Regions from separate parts of the Homo sapiens genome. Here all the other regions are linked to region 4. Evidence: promoter capture Hi-C in human tissues and cell types (Jung and others, 2019). All regions are on one chromosome and are shown on one strand. Each heading gives the region's core, a stretch centred on a gene start or on the middle of the fragment in contact. The rest is flanking DNA. Distances are from core to core; before and after follow the strand shown.

Region 1 (6,784 bases), core at 2,161-4,660, 290 kb before region 4:
AGACACAGTTCCTGCTTTATAGGGGGGATGCTGGTGGGAAAGCAATAAAGAATAAGTTTCTTATCTCCACCACCACCCCACCCCAGCTGGTGCTCCATAGTTTAGTTGTTCTGCCCAGGGAAGAGTCAGAGCAAGCCTTAAAAATTGGCAACACTCTTCCCCTGACAAACAGCCAGACTTACATTGGATCAAACTGCGTGCAGTGCCCAAGGGTATTGTCAAAAATAATAATCATATAGCAATTAGTGGAGGCACCCGCCACCATGCCCAGCTAGTTTTTTGTATCTTTAGTAGAGACGGAGTTACACCATGTTAGCCAGGATGGTCTCAATTTCCTGACCTCGTGATCCACCAGCCTCGACCTCCCAAAGTGCTAGGACTACAGGCGTGAGCCACCCTATAGCAGTGCAAGAACAGACTAATTCACTCTTCATTCTTCTTCCAGCTTTTAAAAATAAAATTATATAAAATAATAAGCATAATAATGTAGGGTTGGGTTTCTAGCATACATAAACATAATATGCAAAATAGTAATAACATGCAGAAAAGAATGAGAGGGAATGAGATATACAGAAGAAAATCTTTTGTATCTCACTTGAATTGAGTAGTATAAACCTGAAGTTAATTCTGATAAGATGTATATTGAAAGTCCTAGAATAAGCACTAAGAAAATAACTCAAAAAATGTCAATATTAGTTTCTCATTGATGCTTTAAGAAATTGCCACAAACTTAATTGCTTAAAACAAGACAAATTTATGATCTTACAGTTTTGGAGGTCATAAATCTGAAGAGGTTTCAATGGGTAAAATCAAGAAGTAAACAGAATTGTGTTCCCCTTGGAGGCTCTAGCAGGAAGATCTGTTTTCTTGCCTTTTCTAGCTTTCAGAGACTACACTCCCCTTTCAAGCCAGCAAATGCATCATTCTAACATCTCACTCGCAGTATGTTTTTTTTTTTTTTTTTACTTTCCTGCCTCCCTCTTTCCCTTATAATTAGCCTTGTGATTACATTGGAGTGACTCAGATAAGACAGGGTAGTCTCCCCATCTCAAAATTCTTAATCACACATGCAAAGCCCCTTTTGCCATGCTAGGTAATATATTCACAGGTTCTGGGCATTCAGACATGGGCATCATTTGTGGATCATTATTTTGCCTACCATGGTTAAAATATCATTAAAGGAATTGAAATGTTACACTAGAAAATATACAGCTAATGCAAAAGAAGATAGTAAAGAATAAAGAAACTAAAATGACAAACATATAGACAGCAAAAACAAAAATGGCAGACATAAATAAAACCATAACAATAACATTAAATTTGAAAGAATTAATCCTATCAAAACAACAAATTATTAGACATAATTTTTTTAAAATTCAACCATGTATTGTCCACAGCAAACGTATTTTAGATTCAAAAATACAAGTAAATTGAAAGCAAAATGATGGGAAAGATATGCCATGTGAATAGCAACCAAAAGAGAGCAGGAATAGCTATGCTAATATCAGACAAATTAGAGTTTTAAAAAAATGTTAATAAAAAATGTCATAATAAAAAAGGATCAATCCATCAGGAAGACATAACAATCATAAACATATATACACCTAACAACAGAGCCTCAGATACATGAAGCAAACCTGAACAGAATGTAAAAAAAATATATAAGTTTCAACAATCATAATAGGAGACCTTACTTTCAATAATGGATAGAGCAACTATTCAGAAGATCAGCAAGGAAATATAGAACTTCAACAGCTCTTTAAAGCAACTAGACATAGTAGACATCCACCCAAAAGCCATAAAATTTATGTTTCTTAAGCACACATGGAACATTCTCCAAGACTGATCATATGCTAGGCCATAAAGCAAATCTCCATAAATTTAAAAGAATTGCAATTACACAAACTATGTTATTTGACAACAACAGAATAAAGTTATAAATCAATAACAAGAAAAGATGTGAAATTCAAAATTACATAGAAATAAAATAACAAATGCCTAAATAACTAATGGATCACAGAAAAAAAATCACAAGGGAAATTAGTTAAGTTTCGAAATGAATTAAAATGAAACACAATATACCAAACTTATGAAATGCAGCAAAAGCAATTCTCAGAGAGAAATTTATGGCTATAAACACCAATACTGTATTACAAAAAGAAGAAAGACTTCAATTAATAATCTAAACTTCCACCTTAAGTAACTTGAAAAAGAAGAACCAACTAAACCCAAAGCAATAGAAAAAAAGGAAATAACAAACAAATAAATAAAACAGAGAATAGAAAAACAATACAGAAAAATCAATGAAACAAAAAGTTAGATCTTTGAAAAGGTCAGCAAAATTGAAAAACCTTTACCTAAACTGACTAATAAGAGAGAGAGAGAATGCATATTACTAAAGTCAGAAGTGAAAGAAAGATGTCATTTTTGATCTCATGGAAATAAAAAGGATTAAAAAGGAGTACTATAAACTGTACAACAAGAAATTTGATAACTTAGATGAAATAGACAAATTTCTGAAATAACAGAAACTACCAAAATTAACTCAGGATAAAAAAGAAAATCTGAATAGACCAATAACAAATTAAGAGGTTAAATTTGTAATTTAAAACTTTACCACAATGAAAATCTCAGGCCCATAATGTTTCACTGGTGAACCCTTGCAAATACATAAAGAGGAATTAAAACAGATACTTCATAAACTCTTCCAAAAAATAGAAAAGGAAGGAACAATTTTCAACTCATCATATGAGGACAGAATTACCAAAACAAAAGACATTAAAATAAAAGAAAACCACAAACTAATAACCATTATGAAAATAAAAGCAAAACTTTTCAGCAAATTACTAGTAAATTAAATTTAGAAACATATAGAAAGGAATATCCACCATAACCAAGAGGGATTTATCCCAAGAATATAAGATTGATTCAAAATCAAAACATCAATCTATGTAACACAACATACCAATAGAATAAAACACAAAAACCATATAATCTCCATAAATGCAGGAAAATCCTTGTTAAAACCCAACACACCTTCATTTAAAAAGAAAACCATTTAAAAAAACAGAAGGAAACTTCCTTAACCTGGTAAAGAACATCTATAAAATACCTACAGCTAGCACCATGCTTAATGGTGAAAGACAAAGCTTTCTCCTTATAATCAAGAACAAGACAAATCTGTTCACTCTCTTGCCATTTCTATCTAACATTATACTGTAAGTCATACTCAGGGAAATTGGGTCAGAATAATACATAAAATTGGAAAGGAAGAAGTGAAATTATCTTTTTTGTAGATGACATGATCTTCTACATAGAAAATTAAAAGAAGTCCACAAAACATTACGTTAGCTGTTTAAAAATCTATCCAGGCCTGCAGCAACTCGATTCTTGCCTCCTCAGAAGAAAGAATTATGCTGAGGGGCATAAGGCAGGGTGAGAGACCAAGGTGAGTTTTAGAGCAGGAGTGAAAGTCTATTAAAAAGTTTTAGAACAGGAACGAAAAGAAGTAAAGTACACTTGGAAAGGGGCCAAGCGAGTAACTCGAGATCGAGCCAAGTGTGCTGTTTGGCCCTTGACTTAAGGTTTTTATACACTGCATTTCTTCTCCCTTGATTTTTCCTTAGGCAGGCTGTCTACATGCACAGTGGCTTGCCAAAACTAGGGAGGGGCCACATGCGCAGGTGTCTACTGAAGTTGTGCACATGTTCATTTGAGGCATTTTTCCCTTACCAGTCAAGTGTTTCCAGAGGAAGGTCATATACCAGTTAAACTCTGCCATTTTGCTTCTCGGTGTGCATGCTCAAGCCTGCTTGCCCAATTCCTGAAATCTTATCAGGAAGCAGCCATCACCAGCTTCAGGTGTTTTCTATTATTGGAAGCGTGCTTCCCCTGGTGCCAGCTGCAAACAATTTTTTTTTAGTGAGTCAGTTTAACAAGCACCTAACGATCACCTGATGGCCACCTGAAATTCCTGGTTGGTGGGGGTGGGCTTCTCCTGCCCTGCTCATATCTGCCTAGCTACCTTCTCCAACAATTATAATTAATAAATTGGTTGAGCAAGTTTATAGGGTACGCAATCAATGTACAAACACAACTGTATTTCCATATACTAGCAACAATCTAATAATTATATTATAAATCAATTACATTTACAATAACTTCAAAAAGAATAAAATATTTAGAAATACATTTAATAAAAAAAGAATAATGTTTGTACACTGAAAAGTACAAAATATCATAGAAAGAATTTGAAGACCTAAATAAATGGGAAAACATCCAATGTTCATAGATCGGAAGACAATGTTAACATGACAATACTCCCCCAAATAGTTAAATGCAATCCCAGTCAAAATCTCAGCTGCTTTTTTTTTCTTTTTTTGTAAAAATTGACAAGCTAATCCTAATATTCATGTCTAATTGCAAGGAACCCAGAATAACCAAAACAATCTTGAAAATGAAGAAATTTAAGAATTCACACATCCTGAATTCAACATCTGCTACAAAGCTATTGGAATCAAGATAATGTGGCACTGACTTGAGGACAGACATATAGATCAAAGAAATGAAATTGGGAGTCCAGAAATTAATGCTTACATTTATATTCAACTGATTTTCTAGAAAGATGCCAAGATGATTCAAATAGGCATGGAAGATATTTTTGGAGCAACAAAATTATTCTAAGATTCTGGGGATGATTGCACAACTCTCTAAGAAATCATTCAATTGTACACTTAAAAAGGGTGAATATTTCAGTATGCAAATTGTACCTTAATAAAGGTGTTTAGGAATCAATGGATTAACTTCAAATGTATGCATTATAGATAGATGAGGCATAAAGTCACTCATGAATTTTTAAGGGTAGAGAAAAAAGGGATAGTTAGACATTTCAGACTTTCAGTGGTTAAAATCCTATACTCAAATGTGTGTCTCATTTCACAGATTGAGAAAATGAGGAAAATTGGGAGAGTTTCTTGTGCTCTGACCAGTTCTGATGAGCTTTTGGTCAGTGCCAGCTTTGTCTGAGACAGAAAGCCAAGAAAGCAAAAATCACTCAAGTCACTGTGGGAAGCAAAAGGTAAAGATTAGAAACAGGCATGTTGGGTTTGTTTCGGATCAGCACACATTTGGATGCTTTTAATACTGAACATTTATTAAATGCAAGCAGCTCACTGAGCCAGAGAGAATTTGGAGCTATTTGTGGCCTCTAGCTCCTTGGTCTGAAAAATTGGAGTGAATATCAGAGTTCATTCTACTCCAGGCTTAAGACCTTCTCTGAATTTATGAAATTGGAAACATAATATTCGAATCATTTGACACAATTATTCATCTATAACATGGATGTAAGTGTTTTTAGTATCTTTTCCCTTAAAGTTGAGTAGTGTAAAAGTAAAGCCCTGCATGTTCTAGAAAGATTCACCTTTTTAATGAATTAAGTACATTTTGTATTTGTTTTTGATTACCTTATCTCTAGTCCCACTAGCTCTGAGCCTTGTATAACGGTAGCAGTATCATGTTACCAGAACCTGAAATCACACTTCCCTGGGATGTTCTGATGGCAGAGAGTGCAAAGAAATGACTTCTCTGGAATCGTTCCAGGACAGCATGCTGTCAGGGCAATTTGAGGATAATATGCACAGTCCAGTGAAGGTTGCATAATTGCCCATGTGCTATTTTTAACTCATTCTCTCGAGTTACACCATTGGCACAGATAAGCCATTACAATGTGCTCAGATACCTATTAAAAGTGATTAAATAAGTGGCATGGACTTAGTGGCATATAGTCGTATCTTAAGTTTGACAGGTGAGAGCTGCTTATAGCATTTTTCCCTATAGTGCTATTTATTTATTCTCATATCACCCCCATTATTTGGAGAGGTAACAAAAGAAGGAGTTGAGAGGGAAATCAACTCACTTGAATCATTGCTAGGTGCTGAGGTCAACACAAGGCAAGTGACTAACTAGGTTTATAAAAATTCACTCTGATAAAAATGAAAGCACCTTTATTTCCACTCTAAACAAGTCACTGAGATAAGCTTCTCTGACACCTACAAAAGGCATGGTAATATTTATTTTCTTCAGAGACTTTTCTCCTATGGCTATTAAAACAGAGCTCCACTTAAAAATCAATATACAGTTCACTATCTGAGGGATAAATTGTCAATGGCACAAAACTGCAAGTGAGCCAGATTGTTAATATGCTGCAATCCTGTGCTCCCAGCATCTCTAATGTCCTCGTTCCAAGTTCCCCTCATCCCTAAGACCTCTTCTCCTCCTACTTCATCTTCTCCCTTGAAGTTGGAGGAGTTTCAGACATGAGCCAAGTGGACAAGCCCATTTTTTTAAGCATGCATGCATCTCCAATTTCCCTGAAATACCTCCTAGGTCTGGGTAGCTGTGAAGGAAAGAGGTAGTGAAATGCCCCAACGATGATCGAAGGAAAAGGCTAAAAGTGTCACTGAGAGGCCCAAAGATCTCTGTCATGACCTACAGTATGCTTTATAATTCCATAATGGGTCTTCAAATTGAGGATCAACTTGAGTGATCAATTCCAGCATAACAACCTGATCCAAGCTTCTCTTCACTCAGCTTTTAACCAGATTATGTGAGACTCTTTAAAGAACAATTTTTAAACTGCATAGAAGATATTAAGCCACCTAAAGTTGGGAGAACTGGGATATCCTTGCAACATTGTATTTCTGACTAAAATAAGCCTCCTTAAAGTATGTGGTATTCTAGCAAAGGCTAATATAAATCCCTGGCACTACTCAAGGGCTAAAGGATC
Region 2 (6,519 bases), core at 408-2,907, 420 kb before region 4:
GAAATGAAGGAGATAGAGACACAAAAAAACCTTCAAAAAATCAATGAGTCCAGGAGCTGGTTTTCTGAAAAGATTAACAAAATAGATAGACCACTAGCAACACTAATAAAGAAGAAAAGAGAGAAGAATCAAAAAGATGCAATAAAAAATGATAAAGGGGATATCACCACCGATCCCACAGAAATACAAACTACCATCAGAGAATAATATAAACACCTCTATGCAAATAAACTAGAAAATCTAGAAGAAATGGATAAACTCCTGGACACATACACCTTCCCAAGACTAAACCATGAAAAATTTGAATCTCTGAATAGACCAATAACAGGCTCTGGAATTGAGGCAATAATTGATAGCCTTCCTGGCAAACCAAATCCAGCAGCACATCAAAAAGCTTAACCACAACAATCAAGTTGGCTACATCCCTGGGATGCAGGGCTGGTTCAACGTATGCAAATCAATAAACGTAATCCATCACTAAACAGAACCAAAGACAGAAACCATATGATTACCTCAACAGATGCAGAAAAGGCATTCCACAAAATTCAACAGCCCTTCATGCTAAAAACTCTCAATAAACTAGGTATTGATGGAACGTATCTCAAAATAATAAGAGCTATTTATGACAAACCCACAGCCAATATCTTACTGAATGGGCAAAAACTGGAAGCATTCCCTTTGAAAACCAGCACAAGACACGGATGCCCTCTCTCACCACTCCTTTTCAACATAGCATTGTAAGTTCTGGCCAGGGCAATCAGGCAAGAGAAAGAAATAAAGGGCATTCAGTTAGGAAAAGAGGAAGTCAAATTGTCTCTGTTTGCAGATGACATGATTGTATATATAGAAAACCCCATTGTCTTAGACATGAAGTACTTGACCATGCCTATGTCCTGAATGGTATTGCCTAGGTTTTCTTCTAGGGTTTTTATGGTTTTAGGTCTAAAATGTAAGTCTTTAATCCATCTTGAATTAATTTTCATATAAGGTGTAAGGAAGGGATCCAGTTTCAGCTTTCTACATATGGCTAGCCAGGTTTCCCAGCACCATTTATTGAATAGGGAATCCTTTCCCCATTGCTTGTTTTTGTCAGGTTTGTCAAAGATCAGATAGTTGTAGATATGTGGCATTATTTCTGAGGGCTCTGTTCTGTTCCATTGGTCTATATCTCTGATTTGGTACCAGTACCATGCTGTTTTGGTTACTGTAGCCTTGTAGTATAGTTTGAAGTCAGGTAGTGTGATGCCTCCAGCTTTGTTCTTTTGGCTTAGGATTGACATGGCAATGCAGTCTCTTTTTTGGTTCCATATGAACTTTAAAGTAGTTTTTTCCAATTCTGTGAAGAAAGTCATTGGTAGCTTCATGGGGATGGCATTGAATCTATGAATTACCTTGGGCAGTTTGGCCATTTTCACAATACCGATTCTTCCTACCCATGAGCATGGAATGCTCTTCCATTTGTTTGTATCCTCTTTTATTTCACTGAGCAGTGGTTTGTAGTTCTCCTTGAAGAGGTCCTTCACAACCCTTGTAACTTGGATTCCTAGGTATTTTATTCTCTTTGAAGCAGTTTTGAGTGGGAGTTCACTCATGATTTGGCTCTCTGTTTGTCTCTTATTGGTGTATAAGAATGCTTGTGATTTTTGTACATTGATTTTGTATCCTGAGACTTTGCTGAAGTTGCTTATCAGCTTAAGGAGATTTGGGGCTGAGATGATGGGGTTTTCTAAATATACAATCATGTCATCTGCAAACAGGGACAATTTGACTTCCTCTTTTCTTAATTGAATACCTTTTATTTCTTTCTCCTGCCTGATTGCCCTGGCCAGAACTTCCAACACTATGTTGAATAGGAGTGGTGAGAGAGGGCATCCCTGTCTTGTGCCAGTTTTCAAAGGGAATGCTTCCAGTTTTTGCCCATTCAGTATGATATTGGCTGTGGGTTTGTCATAAATAGCTCTTATTGTTTTGAGATACTTCCCATCAATACCTAATTTATTGAGAGTTTTTAGCATGAAGGGCTGTTGAATTTTGTCAAAGGCCTTTTCTAGGTCTAGTGAGATAATCATGTGGTTTTTGTCGTTGATTCTGTTTACATGCTGGATTACATTTATTGATTTGCATATGTTGAACCAGCCTTGCATCCTGGGGATGAAGCCCACTTGATCGTGGTGGATAAGCTGTCCGATATGCTGCTGGATTTGGTTTGCCAGTACTTTATTGAGGATTTTTGCATCGATGTTCATCAGGGATATTGGTCTAAAATCCTCTTTTTTTGTGTGTCTCTGCCAGGATTTGGTATCAGGACGATGCTGCCCTCATAAAATGAGTTAGGGAGGATTCCTTTTCTATTGATTGGAATAGTTTCAGAAGGAATGGTACCAGTTCCTCCTTGTACCTCTGGTAGAAATTGGCTGTGAATCCGTCTGGTCCAGGACTTTTTTTGATTGGTAAGCTATTAATTATTGCCTCAATTTCACCAAAAGCAATGGCAACAAAAGCCAAAATTGACAAATGGCATCTAATTAAACTAAAGAGCTTCTTCACAGCAAAAGAAACTACCATCAGAGTGAACAGGCAACCTACAGAATGGGAGAAAATTTTTGCAATCTACTCATCTGAAAAAGGGCTAATATCCAGAATATACAATGAACTCAAACAAATTTGCAAGAAAAAAGCAAACAACCCCATCAACAAGTGGGCAAAGGATATGAACAGACACTTCTCAAAAAAAGACATTTGTGCAGCTAAAAGACATATGAAAAAATGCTCATCATCACCGGCCATCAGAAAAATGCAAATCAAAACCACAATGAGATACTATCTCACACCAGTGGGAATGGTGATCATTTAAAAGTCAGGAAACAACAGGTGCTGGAGAGGATGTGGAGAAATAGGAACACTTTTACACTGCTGGTGGGACTGTAAAGTAGTTCCACCATTGTGGAAGTCAGTGTGGCGATTCCTCAGGGATCTAGAACTAGAAATACCATTTGACCCAGCCATCCCATTACTGGGTATATACGCAAAGGATTATAAATCATGCTGCTATAAAGACACATGCACATGTATGTTTATCGCAGCACTACTCACAACAGCAAAGACTTGGAACCAACCCAAATGTCCACCAATGATAGACTGGATTAAGAAAATGTGGCACATATACACCATGGAATACTATGCAGCCATAAAAAATGATGAGTTCATGTCCTTTGTAGGGACATGGATGAAGCTGGAAACCATCATTCTCAGCAAACTATTGCAAGGACAAAAAAACAAACATAGCATGTTTTCACTCATAGGTGGGAATTGAACAATGAGAACACATGGACACAGGAAGGGGAACATCACACACCAGGGCCTGTTATGGGGTAGGGGGATGGGGAAAGGATAGCATTAGGAGATATACCTAATGTGAAAAGACGAGTTAATGGGTGCAGCACACCAGCATGGCACATGTATATATATGTAACAAACCTTCACGTTGTGCACATGTACCCTAAAACTTAAAGTATAATATAAATAAATAAAAAAATAAATAAAAAGAAAACCCCATCATCTCAGCCCAGTATCTCCTTAAGCTGATAAGCAACTCCAGCAAAGCCTCAGGATACAAAATAAATGTGCAAAAATCACAAGCATTCCTATACACCAATAATAGAGAGCCAAATCATGAGTGAGCTCCCATTCACAATTACTACAAAGAGAGTAAAATACCTGGGAATCCAACTTACAAGCGATGTGAAGGACCACTTCACAGAGAACTACAAATCACTGCTCAATGAAATAAAAGAGGACACAAACATATAGAAGAACATTCCATTCTCATGGATAGGAAGAATCAGTATTGTGAAAATGGCCATATTGCTCAACCTAATTTGTATACTCAATGCTATCCCCATCAAGCTACCATTGACTTTCTTCACACAATTAGAAAAAACTACTTTAAACTTCATATGGAACCAAATAAGAGCCCACAAAGCCAAGACAATCCTAAGCAAAAAGAACAAAGGTGGAGGCATCATGCTACCTGACTTCAAACTATACTACAAGACTACAGTAACCAAAACAGCATGGTACTAGTACCAAAACAAATATATAGATCAATGGAACAGAAGAAAGACCTCAGAAATAACACCACACATCTACAGCCATCTGATCTTTGACAAACCTGACAAAAACAAGCAATGAACAAAGGATTCCCTATTTAAAAAATGGTGCTGGGAAAACTGGCTAGTCATATGTAGAAAGCTGAAACTGGATCTCTTCCTTACACCATATACAAAAATTAATTCAAGATGGATTAAAGACTTAAATGTAAGACCTAACACCATAAAAACCCTAGAAGAAAACCCAGGCAATACCAATCAGGACATAGGCATGGGCAAAGACTTCATGACTAAAACACGAAAAGCAATGGCAACAAAAGCCAACATAGACAAGTGGGAGCTAATTAAACCAAAGAGTTTCTGCACAGCAAAAGAAATTATCATAAGAGTGTACAGGCAACCTACAGAATGGGAGAAAATCTTTGCAATCCACCCATCTGACAAGAGCTAATATCCAGAATCTACAAATAACTTAAACGAATTTACAAGAAAAAAGCAACCCCATCAAAAAGTGGGCAAAGGATATGAACAGACACTTCTCATAAGAAGACACTTATGCAGCCAAAAGACATATGGAAAAATGCTTACCATCACTGCTCATTAGAGAAATGCAAATCAAAACCACAATGACATACCATCTCAGAGGAGTTAGAATGGCAATCATTAAAAAGTCAGGAACCAACAGGTGCTGGAAAGGATGTGGAGAAATGGGAACAGTTTTACACTGTTGGTGGGACTGTAAATTAGTTCAACCATTGTGGAAGACAGTGTGATGATTCCTCAAGGATCTAGAACTAGAAATACCATTTGACCAGCCATCCCATTACAGGGTATATACCCAAAGGATTATAAATCATGCTACTATAAAGACACATGCACATGTATGTTTATCGCGGCACTATTCACAATTGCAAAGACTTGGAACCAACCCAAATGTCCACCAATGATAGACTGGATTAAGAAAATGTGGCACATATACACCATGGAATACTATGCAGCTATAAAAAAGGATGAGTTCATGTCCTTTGCAGGGTCATGGATGAAGCTGGAAACCATCATTCTAAGCAAACTATCACAAGAACAGAAAACCAAACACCACATGTTCTCACTCATAGGTGGGAGTTGAACAACGAGAACACATGGACACGGGGCGGGGAACATCACACACTGGGCCTTTCAGGGGGTGGGGGAACTGGGAGAGGAATAGCTTTAGGAGAAATACCTAATGTAAATGACAAGTTGATGGGTGCAGCAAACCAACATGGCACATGTATACCTATGTAACAAACCTGCACGTTGTGTACATGTACCCTAGAACTTAAGGTATAATAATAAAAAAAAAATTCTCATTTTTATTAATTGGTAAACTATTAAAGAAGAAAATTGTATTATTTTTATAATAATTATATAGTTTTTTCCTTTTTCAAACAGTTTTATTGAAATATAACTCATATACTATAAAATCTATCCTATTAAAACTTACAGTTCATGCCTCTCTTTGGCAGCACATATACTAAAAAAGTTTACAATTCAATTTTTTACGATATTCGCTGATATGCTTTCACTATGATCCAACCCATATCTCATCTTGAAATATAGTTCCCATAATACCCACTTGTTGTGGGAGGGAACTGGTGAGAGGTAATTTAATCATGGGGGTGATTACACTAACGCTGTTCTCCTGATATCGAGTGAGTTCTCACGATATCTGATGGTTTTATAAGGAGCTTTTCCCCCTTTTGCTTGGCACTTCTTGCTGTCACCATGTGACGAAGGATGTGTTTGTTTCCCCTACCTCCATGATTATAAGTTTCCTGAGGCCTCCCCAGCCATGCTGAAATGTGAGTTAATTAAATCTCTTTCCTTTATAAATTATCCAGTCTCAGGTATGTCTTTATTAGCAGTGTGAGAACAAATGAATACATTCACGAAGCCATGTGACAACCACAGTTATCTAATTTTAGAATATTTTCACCACCCCCCCACCACAAAAAAATATACACTTTAGTGTTATACCCCACTTCCCTCTCTTCCTAGCCCTAGGCAACTACTAATCTACTTTGTCTCTGTTGACTTGCCTATTCCAACAATTTTATATAAACACAACTATATGATGTGTAGTCGTATAATTTTTTATTTCTTTTTCACTTAGCATGCTCTCAAATTTCATCCATGTTATAACATATGTCAATACTTGATTCACTTTTATTGCCAACAATATTTCACATATAATAATTTACTTTTATTGCCAAACAATATTTCATTATATGTGAAATATTGTTTGGCAATAAAACAATACCACATTTTGTTTATCCATTATTCAGTTAATGGATATTTGGATTGTTTTCTCTTTTGGCTATTATGGATAAAGCTAATATGAACATTATATTCAAAATTTTTCATGATGTTT
Region 3 (7,586 bases), core at 2,700-5,199, 330 kb before region 4:
GGGAGGCCTGGTCAACTTACTGCTACTTAATGCCTTTCATTTAAGTGGAGACTAGGGAAATTAAATAAAATTAAACCACAATCAGTCTCATTTTAGCTGCTTATTAACCACTCTAATAAAGGTTGATAACACATAAGATAGAAATTACTACCTAAATGAACATGCTTAAAGCCTCCAGACTCCTTTCCCATGTTAGTTCAGTATCTCATGAACTGGATTAAAAACACTCACTCTGCAGAATTTTCAGGAAGTATGTGGGAGCTTGGATGATCACTTAAATCTTCTTGGTAAACATACATCCTAAGTTTTTTATACTTCATGCCTATAATACCATGTTACCCAGTGGGGCTCAAAAATACCCATTGCTAAGGGGTAGGAACTTGTTACAATCTCCTAATGGTTAAGAAAAGAGAAAAAAAGTGTACAATTTCATATTTTTTCATGTTCCAATACTTCCTCAGAGAGAGGTCAGCATGGCTAATAAACAATTTTTGAAAGGTAACAATTTAAATGTCATTCTCTCATTGTAAAATAGTGCTTCTTATTTTGTCTTCTGCTACTAACCTTCTTCAGACCCATCATAACCCCAGGAAAAATGATAATGATCATTTCTAAATCTGGTAAAAATATTGTGCTAAAGCATGCCAACCCAGTTTCCTGAAGGGCTAAATTGATTTTTAAGGTATACCATAGACATGGCAGAGAGCACATGAAATTGGTTAGATATGTAAGAACATTTAGAAATTAGAAAACCTATCAAGTTTATCCAATTCTTTCTCCTGGGATTGTTTCCTTTTCTAAATATTGTTACTGCTTGAGTTCACAATTTCATATTCTCTGCTTCCTTCTGCTTTGCTTCCACCACCAAATCTAACAGATAATAACATTCTTCTTGCTAACAGGAAAAAAAATACATTGAAATTAGGATGCAGAGATATATCAAGTCTGTTGATAGAAATCCTCCTACTAAATAATGATGCCAATAACTACTCATTGAATCTAAGCCCTGAAAAATGCTGGAAATGATTTTTTTCTATGTTAATTCTGCAGACTATGTTGACAGGCATTTAATTTCTTATGCTAAAACAATCCCTCATCCACATCTCTGTACCACCAACACTGAAAATTAAAATTCCAGTTCCTAGCTCATCTTGGCTGTCTTACTGTGTACCTTTGCAGGAGGGGCCCTTGGCTTTATTCCCACAGCGGGGAGACCTCCTGGCACAATCCTAACTAGAAATGACATCCTGCTGCCCTGCATCTGAAGACAATGATCAGCCAACAGAAGCACAGAAAAGAACAGCACTCCCTAGGCAGGAGATGCTTTTTTTATTCACAGGAGGCAAGGAATTCAATCTGAGGTTTGTTGCCACTGGGAGGATTCAATAAACAAACAAAACAAAACAGAAACACAAGATAGAAACAAATACCCGTATGTGACTCAAATTCACTTTAACCATGCCACTCATATTTCTGACTTACACTGTGAGTTGCACATTTGTACCATTCAGTGAGAAAGGCAAAATGGATGACAGTCAAATCTGTGGGAGAAGAGGATGAATTTTTCTTTGATTAGAGTAAAATACAAGCACCTGTGAGACAACAAAATCAAGATCTACAAGTGGTCATTTGCTAAATGGGCTAGTGTCCAGGTGTGAAGATTCAGATGAAAACAAAATTTTAAACATCAGATGTATAAGGAGCTATATAGCATATATGAAACTAGGGACTGCAGACATGTTGGGATGGTTTTGTTTACTCAGGGAGGCTGGGTGAAGTGAGAACAGGATAGAAAAGGAGAATACAAACAGGAGAGGAAGAGGGAGACTAGAGCAGTATGCTGAGAAACAACAACATTGGAAGGATTAGCAGAGGAGGGAGAAACATGCTAAGGATCAAAGAAAGAGGTACCAGAGAGAAGTGGTAGGAAAGCCAGGCAGTATGGTATCCCAGGAGCCTGGGAAGGGGCTTTTTCAAGGAGAAACTAGTCAGCCTTGTCGCATTGCTGCTGAGAGGTCAAATAAGATAAAAGCTAACTCTCTACTGAATTTATCAACAGAGGTCATCATTGACTTTGGCAAGAGACATTTCAATTAACTTGTAGGAGCAGGAGTCATATTTCAGGGGGTTGAGGTGTGAATGAGAGATAAGGAGACATCAGGTACCAGGAGCTATTTCCCCTCATACTCTGTTGGCTCTTGGGTGCCTAATACATATAGAAGCACATACTGAATGACGAACAAATACTACTTAGGATAATATTATATCGTGTTTTAGGTTATTACATGTGTGTTATATAATTTCTAGTTATAACAAATACAGAGTCAATGAAAAAACCTCAAAAGAAAAGATAGATTTCCTGGTGAATGTCTGATTAATCATAACCCTGGATAAATACATTTTAAAAATAACCAATCACATTTCCAAAGTTCCTACAAGGCTACAGAAGTAAAGGAGCAGAAGGGAGAAGAATGAGGAACTGAGAAAGCTAATTTCTTCCTCCCTCTAGAAAACTAATAGGCTCTCCTCCCCTCTATGCCTGGTTGGAGATGGGGGGTAGATGAGACACTCAAATCCCCTGAACATCCCATCTTAATCTGGAATCTGGATGCATTGACTCAGGTTAGGGCCTAGGGTTTCTAACTCATTGGCATCACATTCTGAAGGGTCTCCAGCCTTGTCATTCTTAGATACATGAAAAGAAGCCCGGATCTATGGAATCTCCTCCTACTAATTACAATGATTTATGCCTTCTGGAAAGGTCCCAATTTGAAAAGGCATAAGATAAAGGAAGTAAACACACACCAACCTGGGATAGTACATAAAATACTCTTTGGTGTTGTTTTGTTTTGTTTGAGACAGGATCTCCTTCTCTCGCCCAGGCTGGAGTGCAGTGGCGTAATCTCGGCTCACTTCAGCCTCTGCTTCCCGGGCTCAGGTAATCCTCCTACCTCAGCCTCCCAAGTAGCTGGGACTACAGATGCACACCACCACAGTCAGCCAATTCTTTTGTACTTTTAGTAGAGATGGGGTTTCACCTTGTTGTCCAGGCTGGTCTTAAACTCCTGGGCTCAGGTGATCCACCAGCCTCAGCCTCCCAAAGTGCTGGGATTACAGGCGTGAGCCACTGTGCCCAGCCTAACACTCTATTTTAAAAAGCTTCCCTTTGCTTATCTGTAGTAGGATAGAAGACTATTTATTCTGTCATCATTTACATCTCTACAGTCTTTACGGCTGCCCCTGCCTAATATTCCCACTTATGTGGGTACAAAGAGAGACATTTGTACATTCAAACATACTGGACTGGGATCCATATAAATCTATGTATTTCTGTCCATATGGATGATCTACTTCCGTCTCACCAACTGGCAATACTGTCTACATGAGACCAAGCACCGTGATGGTGAATGGGAGATTCAGTCAACCACCCAGATGCTTTGTTTGCATCCTGAGAATCAGCAAGCATCTGGACTGTCAGCTGAACCCTGCTCTTCTCCATCTTGCTGCTGGTTGCTATGCAAGCACAGCCCCTGTCTGTTTTGAAACAAAGCTAATGAGTCTCATTTTCTTCATTTGTCTGTGAAAATGTGACACTAGGCAAATTGGAATACAGTTCACAAAAACAAGGACAGGTTTTGTTTTGTTATTTTTCTAGTTCTGCCCATCACACTATTCTCCTACCCCTAGACAGGATCATCATCACTACAAAACAATCCCTTCCATGTTAGGAGAGTGTGTGGGTTTTTCACAATAAATTTGTGAGGGAGAATGGCAGGAATTATACACTTACTGATGTAAGATCTTAGGGTCGGAGGACTTAACTGAGTAACCTGAAATCACATACCTGGTGATCTGCCCCTCTGGTGAGGGGCAGAATTGAAGTAACAACACAAGAAAATCAGAAAATGACCAGCTGTTATTTCTTTTCCCCATCACAACAAAAAAATCCCAGCATTTCAGGAAGGGAACGTTGAGAGAATCTTTCTGATGAAGATTTACTTTTTAGTTCACAAGAAAGAAGAGAACTCTTTGAGATATGTTTAGATCAAGGACCAACAGTTTAAATTTATACCGCTATTATTTATATTCATAAAATATAGGAGATCCCAACTTATAATATAGAAATTGTTAGGTGAAGGTACATCAACAAGTTGAAATATTTAGAGCCTCTAAAATTAAGGATATGACATTTATTTTCAATAATATGAAGAATTACGTAAATTATGTTAAGTGATGCAGTAATATGTGAAATATTTTGGGTATGCTTCCAAATATGCAGGAAATATAGATACCTAGGAAAAAGGAGGGAAGAAAATATATCAAAATACTAACAGCAGTTAAATCTAGGTGATGGTATTATGAGTCACATTTATCTTTCTTTTTACACTTTTTGCCTTTTGCAAATTTTATGCAATAAATAATATAGTGCATGCCGTGGTGCTCCATCCAGATATCCCATCCCTTAATCCGCTTTCAGGACTGAAACACTGCTCCTTTTTCCATCACCTCCAGCTATTGGGAGACTAAAGTTGCTTCCTTCTTTTTTCTTTTAAGACATAGTCTTGCTCTCTCACCCAGAAGTGCAGTGGTGTGATCACAGCTCACTTCAGCCTCAACCTCCCAGGTTCAAACAATCCCCCAACCTCAGCCTACTGAGTAGCCAAGACCACAGGCACACTCCACCACGCCCAGCTAATTTTTTGTTTTTTAGAGATGGAGTCTTGCTATGTTGCCTATGCTGGAGTGCAATGGCATGATTATGGCTCACTGTAGCCTCAAACTCCTGGACTAGTGATCCTCCCACTTCAGCCTCCCCAGTAGCTAGAACTACAGGCATGTGCCACCAAGCCTAGCTAATTATTTTATTTTATTTTTATCTTTATTTATAGAGATAGAGTCTTATGTTTTCTGGGTTGGTCTTGAACTCCTGGGTTCAAGCAATCCTCCCATATCAGCCTCCCAAATTGCTGGAATTACAGGTGTGGACCACCATGCCTGGCCTCTAAAGTTGCCTCCGTCTTAAGGGCAGTTGACATTCAATGGCCAACCTGTTTAGATGTATATAGGTCCAGACCCTCATCATGGCTCAACTAAAGGGCCATCACAGCTCCAGAGCTCCCTCTGAAATCACCTGGGACCTTTATGCAAGGCCTCTCATTTTATCTTCTCTCTACACAATCTTTTTTCCTTCAACCCAAAATGGGTATTGACCCCAGGAACATACACTTATAAAGTTTCTGCATGCAGATCTCCTTCTCAGCCTCTGTTTTTTAGGGGAATCCATTCTGTAACAATTGGTGCCAGGAGTGATTCAAGGAAAACAACTATAAAATGACATTTTGCTGCTGAATCACCTACCGACCAATCAACCATGAAAAGTTCATCACTGGTGGTAAGTGAAATACTGACAGCTCCTAACCTGGAGTGTTGGGACAAGTATTAAAACTTTCGCTGAGCATGAACAGAGAGAGGATAGTGGTGGAAGTGACTACACTTATGGGTGTGGTATCTTCAGCTTTAAGAAATATGAAAGATAATAATTATAAAGACTATGAAACTGGATTGTTGCTGCTGGGGTTAGGAGCCTGTCATTGACCACCTCATGGTTGCACTATAGATACATGAGTTGAGTAGTATAGTGGCAAGGATAGAGGCTATGCATGGGCCAGCAGCATGAGCTCCCACTCACTAAGACTGATCTAACTACTGCTAATGCCACATGTCCAACTTGCTAACAACAGAGATCAAATCTTAGCTGCTCAAATGGCTCTACCCCTCAAGAAGACTGCAAAGCTATTTGTTGGCAAGTTGATCAGATTAGGCTGTTTTTGTCTTGAAAGGGGCAGCAACTCAACTTTAATAGAATCAGCATACGTTTGGTGTATGGGTTTTACTTTTCTACCTGCAGAACCCAACCTAGCCTCCCTCTGAGTTTACACAGTGTTTCATCCACTGACACAGGATTTCTCATGCTTTGCAGTGGCCATACGGCAAGGCGGTCCACTGGAGCTATCACTTACTACACCACCTGCAAGCTGCTGTCCCAGTGGAGCAAAGGAAAGGCCTGATAAAGCAACAGCTGGGGCACCTGCTTGCAAATGATGCCCTGGAAAGATGAAGAATCTTTCCCCAGAATGTTGTATCACACTAAATCAATGACTTTTAATGGTGCTATTTTCCCAATGGGTACACCACATGGGTCCAGGAACAAAAGGGTTGAAACACAAGTGGCCCAGCTTACCCTCACTGTCAATAAGCCATTTGAAAAATCCACAGTTTCTTTTCTCTTAATTTTGTACTCTACAGGTTTAGAGATCCTAGCTCCCAGATGGGAATGCTTCCACCACAGGACACAGCAAGAGTGCCTTTGAACTTTAATCTCTAGAAATGCTGCCCATTCATTTTAAGCTTCATGCCACAAACGAAGGCATGGAAGAACATGTGAGGCATCCAAGTGATATTTTCAGTATATCTTGGTACTCCCTGGCACAATTTTGCTTGAAAATGGATAAATTCAGCAGCCGCATATGCAAAGAACATGGTGAACAGGGGCTCAGGACCCTCAGAGATGAGGATCTCAGTCATCCAAGCAAATGTGTTATCTAGACCAGCAGAGGTGAGGAGGAGGTAGGGATGGTTAATGAGTACCAAAAACATAAAAAGAATGAATAAGACCAAATGTTTGATAGCACAACAGGGTGACTATAGTCAATAATAATTATACATTTTAAAATAATTTCAAGAGTGTAATTGGATTGTTTGTAACTCAAAGCATAAATACTTGAGGGAACAGATTTAAAAAATAGCCTAGCAGAGGTGCTAGCAGACAAAGGTAAGTGGAATCTAGAGTGTGTAATAGAAGAGAGATGTTAAATAGTAGCCTTGAGAAGCAGCTAGAACTGGAATTCATTCCACTAACCTCCCTTCCTGTTTTTTTTGTTTTGTTTTGCTTTGCTTTGCTTTTTGATACGGGGTCTCCTTCTATCACCCAGGGTGAGTGCAGTGTCATAATCATCACAGCTCACTGTACCCTCAAACTCTCAGGCTCAAGTGATCCTCCTTTCTCAGGCTCCTGAGTAGCTAAGACCACAGACACATGTCACCATGCCTGGCTAATTGTTTTTTTGTAGAGTTGGGGTCTCCCTGTGTTACCCAGGCTGATCTTTATCTCCTAGGCTCAAGCAATCCACCTGCCTCGGCCTCCCAAAGTGCTGCAATCACAGCCATGAGCCACCATGTCTGGTCTAACCTCCATCTTACAATTTTTCTAGGAAAAGAAGCTCTTGAGATCAAGAAGGAGCTACTCCTGGAGCTTATTATACAAAGCATGTGGATCTGAGCAGTGCAAACGGCGGACTATTGTGAGTAGCAAGGTGTCCTTCCCAAATCAACACTTTGGGACTCAAACACTCATTTCCCCACCTTCTGCAATTGTTGGTAGCTGATGGCTCTCAGCTGAATTTATCTCTGAGACACATCATGGGCTGAAGAAGGCTACCTCAGGTAAAGAGACCGTCCATGTCCTGGGTCACAATACCCACACTCCATTTCTGGAGGCAGCTAATATCCACATGTTAGTCAATATA
Region 4 (7,237 bases), core at 2,656-5,155:
CCCGAATCAGCCCCCAACTGGGATACTGGGTCAGAGCAGCCTGAAGTGTTGGTATATGCTCAGCAGTCCAAAGACATGGTTCTCAGGAATCCAGTTCCTTACAACATAACCCTAACTAGAATCTCCCTCATCCACCCCTTCCAGGACCACACATTCTAAGCAAAGAATGTCAACTAGCCAAAAGAAAAGGAAAGCAGGCCGATTTTGAACACTTTATGTCTGTGTGACCTTGAGAAAACTATCTAACTTCACTGGGGTTTCTTCATCTATGGTATATTTCATCCTCATAAAACCTCATGTGGAATTAAAATCCCCATGAGCAGATGAGAAAACCGAGAGACAGAGAGTTTAACAATTGGCCAAAGCTGCCCAAATTATCAGAATCCAAATTCTTTATCTTTCCACTTCTCAGGGCCCCTGCACTGCCCTGCCTCCCAAATATCTAAACACAAACAAGTCAATCAGTGCTAGGACCCGGCCACAGGCCCCTGAAAAGTAAAGAACTGATGCTGCCATCTCCTGTGTCCACAGCTACAATAACACCTGGTAGCCTTACAAATATTTAGATGCAATTTCAAAGTCAGCTCATAGAAAGAGGCATAAAAAAGAAAATGTATTATGGTCTTAATTCCCCTACATTTATAGTTCTCAACTGAGAATGCCAAGCCCTCAGACGCTCCCCCACGCCCTTAACAAAAAAAAATACTTCTTTTCTTCCAGTTAAGCCAAAATAAATATATGTACCCATCATTTATTCAATCAACCACATTTATGGATTACTATGGTGTCCAAGGAAGCTCTGAGCCAAAATAAAAAAGAGAAGGGAGAAGGCTGGCCTCTCCAAAGAGTAAAACCACAGCACACCCAGGGTGGGCCAGAAGCCTGGGAGTCCGCTCCTTGCAGCAGCCCAGGGATGACATGAGAAGAGTAGAAGCTGCATCAGAAAGCAACCTGCCCCCATCATTTCTGAACTTGATAAGGAAGTAGACTGGCAAGTCTTTTAATGCCAGGTCATGAATCTAGATCACAAGGAGACTTTCTTACTTGGGTGTACGGGCCTTTAGCTGACCTAATAGCTACTTCTCTACATGAAGCTACTGGAATGAAGCCCAGGCACTCTACCAACCCACTCTACCATTCCCCTCCCCTACCCACACACAGACATCACACACAGTCAATCCACATAACCTAAAGGAACTTTCAAGTGTTTCTGAGCTATTATTTTGATGCTCCATACTATTAAAACATTTAATAATAACTCTTCCAACTCTTCTAAATCACACTATTGTTCAGACCATGGAAGAAACTCAAATTAGAGGATGACAAACTAATGCCCCCTTGTCCAGCTCTGCCTAAGAAACCAAAATCTTGGGGACACACAGCCATAGATTTGTAAGTCCTTTCCTGATGACAGTAACTACCATTTTATAGTCAAGTATTAAACCTTCCCCTACATAATCATAACTTATTGCCATAACACCCTCAGAAAGTTATTATCATTGCATTGTATTGGTGAATAAAAGGAGGATCTGAGAAAGTAATTACCCAAGCTCACCCTCCTGGCAAATGAGGTTTCTAGAATTCAAACCCACCTCTGAGATCATCTTCCTACTACACTAGCCTGCCTCTATTCCCCAAAGAGACTGGCACTTAATAAACACTCTGTTAGTAATGAATTCAACCACAGGAGAGAGTAAGCCTTGGCATTTTTCTGACTGGAGGAATCTTCCTACCTGCACCCACTCTAGGGACTATATGACAATGACTTTCGGCCTCGGGAGACGGCCATCTCCACCTGAACTGGGCCCAGCACATAGGTGAGCCTTGAGCATTCCACTCTTCCCACTCTTTCTTGCCCCAGAATCCCAGAGCTGGAGCACTGAGGCAATTCCGGAACAGCATCTACTGTCTGATATGTGGGGATAGGAGTGGAAAGGGGAAAAGAACAGCTTGTGCCTTCGGGAATTTGCTCCCTGAAGTCCCTGCAGTGATTTCGTTTGTGTCTGGCTTCCTACAAACAAAGCAGAACAATGAGAGGAAGGAATACCAGGAGGCACCAGCGCTAGCTGGAAGGAGAGGAAGTTTGTGGTGCTCGCCAGCAGGGCGGTTCCCGGCCACTAGTGTACTGCAGCTGGGCAGGCACACTCCTCGCAGACCCGGCGCTCTCCAAGGAGAAAAGAAAGTTAGTGGGCTTGGGGTACGTTTCCCTTCTTTTCCTAGAAGAGGGTGGCAGGGGGGCTGGCTCAGAAAGAAACCATCACTGACCAACACTTGGGGTACTCTGTCAAAATGCTGCTCCTTCCATACTGAGTCTCTTTGCTCCTCCTCTTTCCCCCAGTCAACCTGGGGTTAAGTGGGAAGGGGAGTAAGGCAACTCCAGGGGATGCCTTCCAAACTCCGGGAGAGGGAAAGCACAGGAATTGGGAGAAGACGTGAAGGCAGAGCTTGAACTCCTATGTACCCGGTGACACAAGACTGCTCTGAGGGTGGCGCCCGCTGCTTCTCCCGGGCGCCCCGCCAGCCGCTCTCCCTGGCAGTGGCGCCCTTTCCTCGCCCTCTGCCCGCCCAAGAGCTGCTGGCCCAGAGCAGCCGCATTCCCGACCCTCCAAGGCGAAGATCCCCTGGATTCACCCCCTCACTGGCCTTTCCGCCTAACTGACTGAAACCCGGCTCCCCAGGCACAGATTTTCCAGCCTCCCTAAGAAATGAAAGGTTCGCGTGCCCTTCACCTCCCTCCCTGCTTTCCAGCGTCCTCAGCGCCTCCCCGAACAGCCAGACAGTGGAGCGCCCCGTGTTGGGGAGAGGAGGGGAGCAGACGCCTCCGAAGTTTGGAAAAGTTACACAGGGGCTGGGGACTGGGGGTAGGGGGTGCCGACCGGGAGAAGGGGAGGGTCACCTGTTGAGGGAGGGAGGGAAAGTTTGCCTGGCCCCGCCTCCTCCTCGGGGCACCCCGCTCCCAGCCGCGCCGCGCCTCCCCACCTGGCCCGCGCTCACCTTGAGGCCGCGGATCTCGCCGAGGTGCAGCTGCAGGCGGCGGTTCACCTCGCGGATGAGGTTGCTGTGGTCCAGCATCGCGCTCACCTTCTCCGCCTCGGCGCGCCGCAGGCTGCGGATCAGCTCCTCCTTGCTCCACTGCAGCAGCTCCTCGTCCGACACTTTGGACAGGTCCTCCACCGGCGCGGGCGGGGCCGCGGACGAGCCGGCCGGGGCTGGGGAACAACTTTCCGCCGCCGCCGCAGCCGCCGCCGCGCCTCCGGCCGCCTTCGACATGGTATCCGCGGGGTGGCAGGTGCAAGTGGGTGGAAGAGGCGAGGCGACTCCCGAAGGCGCGGGCGCGGCGAGGCCGCCTCCGCCCACACCCCTGTGCGCTCCGGCGAGTCAGCGGCACCGCCCAGGGGCCGCTGGGTTGGGGCGGCGGGGGTCGCGCTGGGTGGCCATCCTACCTCGCCATCCCCGCGCGCGCGCCCGCGCTCCCCCAGGGCCCGGCAGCCAGCCGCTTGCTGCTGCCGAGGCCCGTCCCAACTCCGCGCAAGTCCATGGTGAGGGGCACTGGGGAGCCCGGGGCTGCCGCGGGAAATCCTCGGGGACAGCGGGGGAGCTGCACCGCCGTTCCCCTGCCCTCTCCTCCGCCCTAAGCCGAGACTGTCGCCCCCCGCACTCTCTGCCCTGCACACAGGCGTGCACGCACACGCACTTTCCTCCCCCTTGCCCAGCTGCAGCCCCCGGCTTCTCCCCTCTCCTAGCTTGGAGGGCGCGCCGGGCACCGCGGCGCCTCCCCGGCTGCTCTAGCGACGCCGCCGCGGCTGCCCGAAGGCTGCTGCGCTCCTCCTGCCGCCTTCGCTGCGCCCGCGGCCGCTCCTAGGCTGCTCCGGAAAGCCTTCGATTTGCAGAGCGGAGTCGAGAAGGGGTGGAGGGTGGGGGACCGGCTGGAGGAGGAGCCTGGAGCTGGGGCCACCCGTAACCCGCAGCAGCTCCCGCATGGGCTGGACGCAGCTGCCACTCGACCGCTGCCCGGGCCCTCGAGGTGCGCTCCCGGCTGTCCTGCCCGGGAGGGCTGGGGGCGCGGCTCTTTCTGCGCCCGGGCGGGTGGGGCTGGAATGGGGAGAAGGTGAGGAGCTGTGGCCGCCCGGTCTTTGGGAGGCTCGCGCGCGCCACCGTGTGGCGGAAGAAGCTCCCTCCTCTGCCCTCTGCACACCGGCCTTGTCACCAGGCAGGGGAAACAGCTGCTGACCCAAATGCGAGGTGCTTCGTATTTGGAGGGATCGGGGATCAGGAAAGATGGGGTAGCAGGACCTGAGGGATAACCAGTTATTTGCACTTTGGAGAATGGGAGGAGAGGCAAATGGCAAAAACGGGGGTTGGGGAAAGGGGCAGCTTAAGAAAATCCAAATGGTCTGAAAAGGGCGAAAAGAGGCGTCAGGGCACTGCTCTTATGGGGCTACCCATCCCCACCCCCCACTCTCGCCCCACCCCTAGGCCTTTGTGTTTTCTAAAAATCCACTACTCTATGAAGAAGCTTCGGGAGAAGGTACTGGATCTTTTAAATTTTTATTTGAAAAATATCAAAGCCTTTAGGCGAAAATAAAATACCTTCATCTCCTGCTTCCTGAAACCTGGATTTTAAGGTCAGCACAGTCACCTCCCCTCGGAGCAAAGCAAGCCCCCTCAGGCAAGCTGAAATGCCAGCCAAGGAGATTTCCATTTTCTTCTATGCCGCAGGCTGCCAGGCGTTTACTGGGTCGGCTTTTTTATGATGGTTATTTCTGGAAGGAGGAAGTCTGAGTCCCTGGCTTCTATCTTTGGGCTATCCTCTTGTAAAGTTGGGTGGAATCGTCTCTGGGCTGAAAACATGCTTTTGCCTAAAGAGGTGGATGCCCTTGACCACCGCATGTTATTTCCAGTGGGGTACAGGGCCGGAAAATGGCAAGGATCTACCCCCACCGGGTTTCAGTTAACCCGGGTGCAGAGGGAATAATCTCTATCTGGTAGGATGATAATCAAAATCAGTCCCTTCACCCGCCGGTCAGTGCGTGTCCCCTATTGGGGACACTGAGACCTGGCTCCCGGGAGAGGCAAGGAAATGTGGTACTGCTTACGGTGACCAAATGGCCTTAACATTCCCCTCAGCTTAACTAAACTTTAGACAGGTTTCTTCCTAACTGTAGGCCCCAGACCTTCCTTTTCTCAGAGCATTTACTTTAGCCAACTTCCATTGGTGAATGTTTCCTCTGACCCTTTGACATGTAAATCTCTCCGCCTCTTGCTGGGTTTTACAGCCTGGGGATCTTTCTCAGGGATCTGTGAGGCATCCCTTTGAAATGTAATCATCAAGGAAAAAAGGGTCCCTATCTCCTAGTGTTTGTGGAGAGGAGGAGCCTAACTTTAATAAGTTCCAATTAGGAAACACAAATGGCCTCATTACACTGACCAACTTCCCATCCTAATCTCCTCCACTAGTCTTCTACTAGTTCCCCTCTCCCTCCCTCTCTCTCTTCCCTATTGCAATAGCCTTGAATAATTCCCCCTTGTCTGTTTAACTATATCGGATGCAATTTTTCTTTGACACCTCCAAGCCGCTCTCACGCCCACAGAAGGCTCTGCTCAACACAGTTCCTAAGACCAGTTTTGTCACAGAAAGGGAAAGTGAAGGTCAGAAAAAGATAAGTCCTATCTCTGTTACTTGTTAGTTCTTGTCCTTGAACAAACCATCCGACCTTACTGGCCCTCGGGCAGCTAATGATATGGTATACAAGAAGCGCTTGATCGAGCCACCCTACAGAAATGCAACCTTACTATTACTGATATTACATATTACATTGGGCAGCCTCTTGTCTAGAAATAGGAACCAGGACTTCTGTTTATTCCTCCATCACGGGTTCTTCAAGAGTCGTATTCTAAAATGAAACAGCCAGCCCCCTTCTCTGCTAACTCCCTCTGATCAGTTAACACCAAATAGATATGAGAAATCAGAGAGATGGCTGAGAGGAAAAATTAGACTTGTGTTGGGAAGACAAGGAAGAAGGAAAGCCAAAAAAAAAAAAAAAGTCTCCACAAATTATATACACTAGCAGTGGATTACAGTTGAGCTAGATCACCTTAAGGTTTTCATGTTTCTAATTTTGGTCATTGATTCAGAATAATAATTATCTGCATGAATGAATAATGTTGCTTCATGTTGCTAAGGTCATGTATGGTGTCAGGAGCTTCATTTGACTGCTAAAAACAGAAACTCAAAAAACAGTCACTTTAAAAAAGTCATTTATTTTTTCTCACCTACCTGGTATTCTAAAGAGAGGCAGCTGAGGGCTGGTATGGTATCTTCATGAGGTCGTCAAAATCTTAGGCTCCTTCTCTCAGCTCAGTCCCCTTTGGGATGATTGCCTCGTGTCCATAACATGGTTGGTGGAACTCTAGCCATCCAGCTACGTGTAAGGCAGGAAGAAGGTAATAACAACTGCAAAGGGGCACATGCCCCTTTAAAAACTTTTCCTGGTGGCCGGGGGCGGTGGCTCATAACTGTAATCCCAGCACTTTGGGCGTCCGATGCAGGTGGATCATTTGAGGTCAGGAATTCAAGACCAGCCTGGCCAATATGGTGAAACCCCATCTTTACTAAAAATACAAAAATTAGCTGGGCATGGTGGTGCGTGCCTATAATCCCAGCTATCGGGAGGCTGAGGCAGGAGAATCGCTTGAGCCTGGGACGCGGAGGTTGTGGTGAGCCAGGATCGTGCCACTGCACTCCACTCTGGTCGAAAGAGTGAGACCCTGTCTCAAAAAAAAAAAAAAAAATCCTGGTAATTGACCCAGTGAATTTTGTTTATGTTCTAATAGGCAGAGCTTACCATATAATCACCTCCCAGCTGCAAGGGAAGCTAGGACAGTGTTTTAAGTTGGGTATATTAAATGGAGATTTCTGAAAACCAGCCATAAATGACCCTACGTCTTTAGTCCTGATGGTTTTATATCATATAATTTTCTTCAGTCAACTCTATTTCCCCCCAGCTCACTGTTACTCAGCCTAGGTTCTCACTAAGTCTCACCTGGCCCTTCTCACTGGTCCCTCTGACTACTGCATCACCTCTCTCGAATCTGCTTTCCACACAACTTCCCAAGTGAATCATCTCAAAAAGTCAAGTCTAGCTACTTTACCCCTGAGACAGATTGAATTATTGCTGATAATTTTTCACAACCTCCCTACAAAATTAATTAACATCGGCCAGGTGTGGTGGCTCAC

The links. Contacts are between HindIII fragments. The study calls those that stand out against the background at their distance.
Region 1: a fragment that was not itself captured here is called in contact with the fragment with the promoter of CCDC85A in region 4 in 1 of the 25 tissues and cell types used here (H1 embryonic stem cells).
Region 2: a fragment that was not itself captured here is called in contact with the fragment with the promoter of CCDC85A in region 4 in 1 of the 25 tissues and cell types used here (thymus).
Region 3: a contact is called between a fragment that was not itself captured here and the fragment with the promoter of CCDC85A in region 4, in 1 of the 25 tissues and cell types used here (lymphoblastoid cells).

What each region holds. Positions count from the first base shown.
Region 1 is chr2:56,473,769-56,480,552 of GRCh38, reverse strand. No RefSeq gene overlaps it. Among named protein-coding and RNA genes, the nearest start is that of CCDC85A, 290 kb to the right of the region's middle. The HindIII fragment of the contact is 5,789 bases long and covers 516-6,304 here.
Region 2 is chr2:56,597,316-56,603,834 of GRCh38, reverse strand. The region is part of intron 4 of LOC101927213 (a long non-coding RNA gene); the gene reads right to left. Among named protein-coding and RNA genes, the nearest start is that of CCDC85A, 420 kb to the right of the region's middle. The HindIII fragment of the contact is 4,704 bases long and covers 1-4,009 here.
Region 3 is chr2:56,506,676-56,514,261 of GRCh38, reverse strand. No RefSeq gene overlaps it. Among named protein-coding and RNA genes, the nearest start is that of CCDC85A, 330 kb to the right of the region's middle. The HindIII fragment of the contact is 7,618 bases long and covers 141-7,586 here.
Region 4 is chr2:56,180,658-56,187,894 of GRCh38, reverse strand. CCDC85A (coiled-coil domain containing 85A) reads right to left here and starts at 3,905. Exons shown (of 6, transcript NM_001080433.2): 1 at 2,995-3,905. The coding sequence starts at 3,270. LOC100129434 (a long non-coding RNA gene) reads left to right here and starts at 2,125. Exons shown (of 3, transcript NR_125368.1): 1 at 2,125-2,197. RefSeq lists a silencer at 3,906-4,235. The HindIII fragment of the contact is 12,191 bases long and covers 1-7,237 here.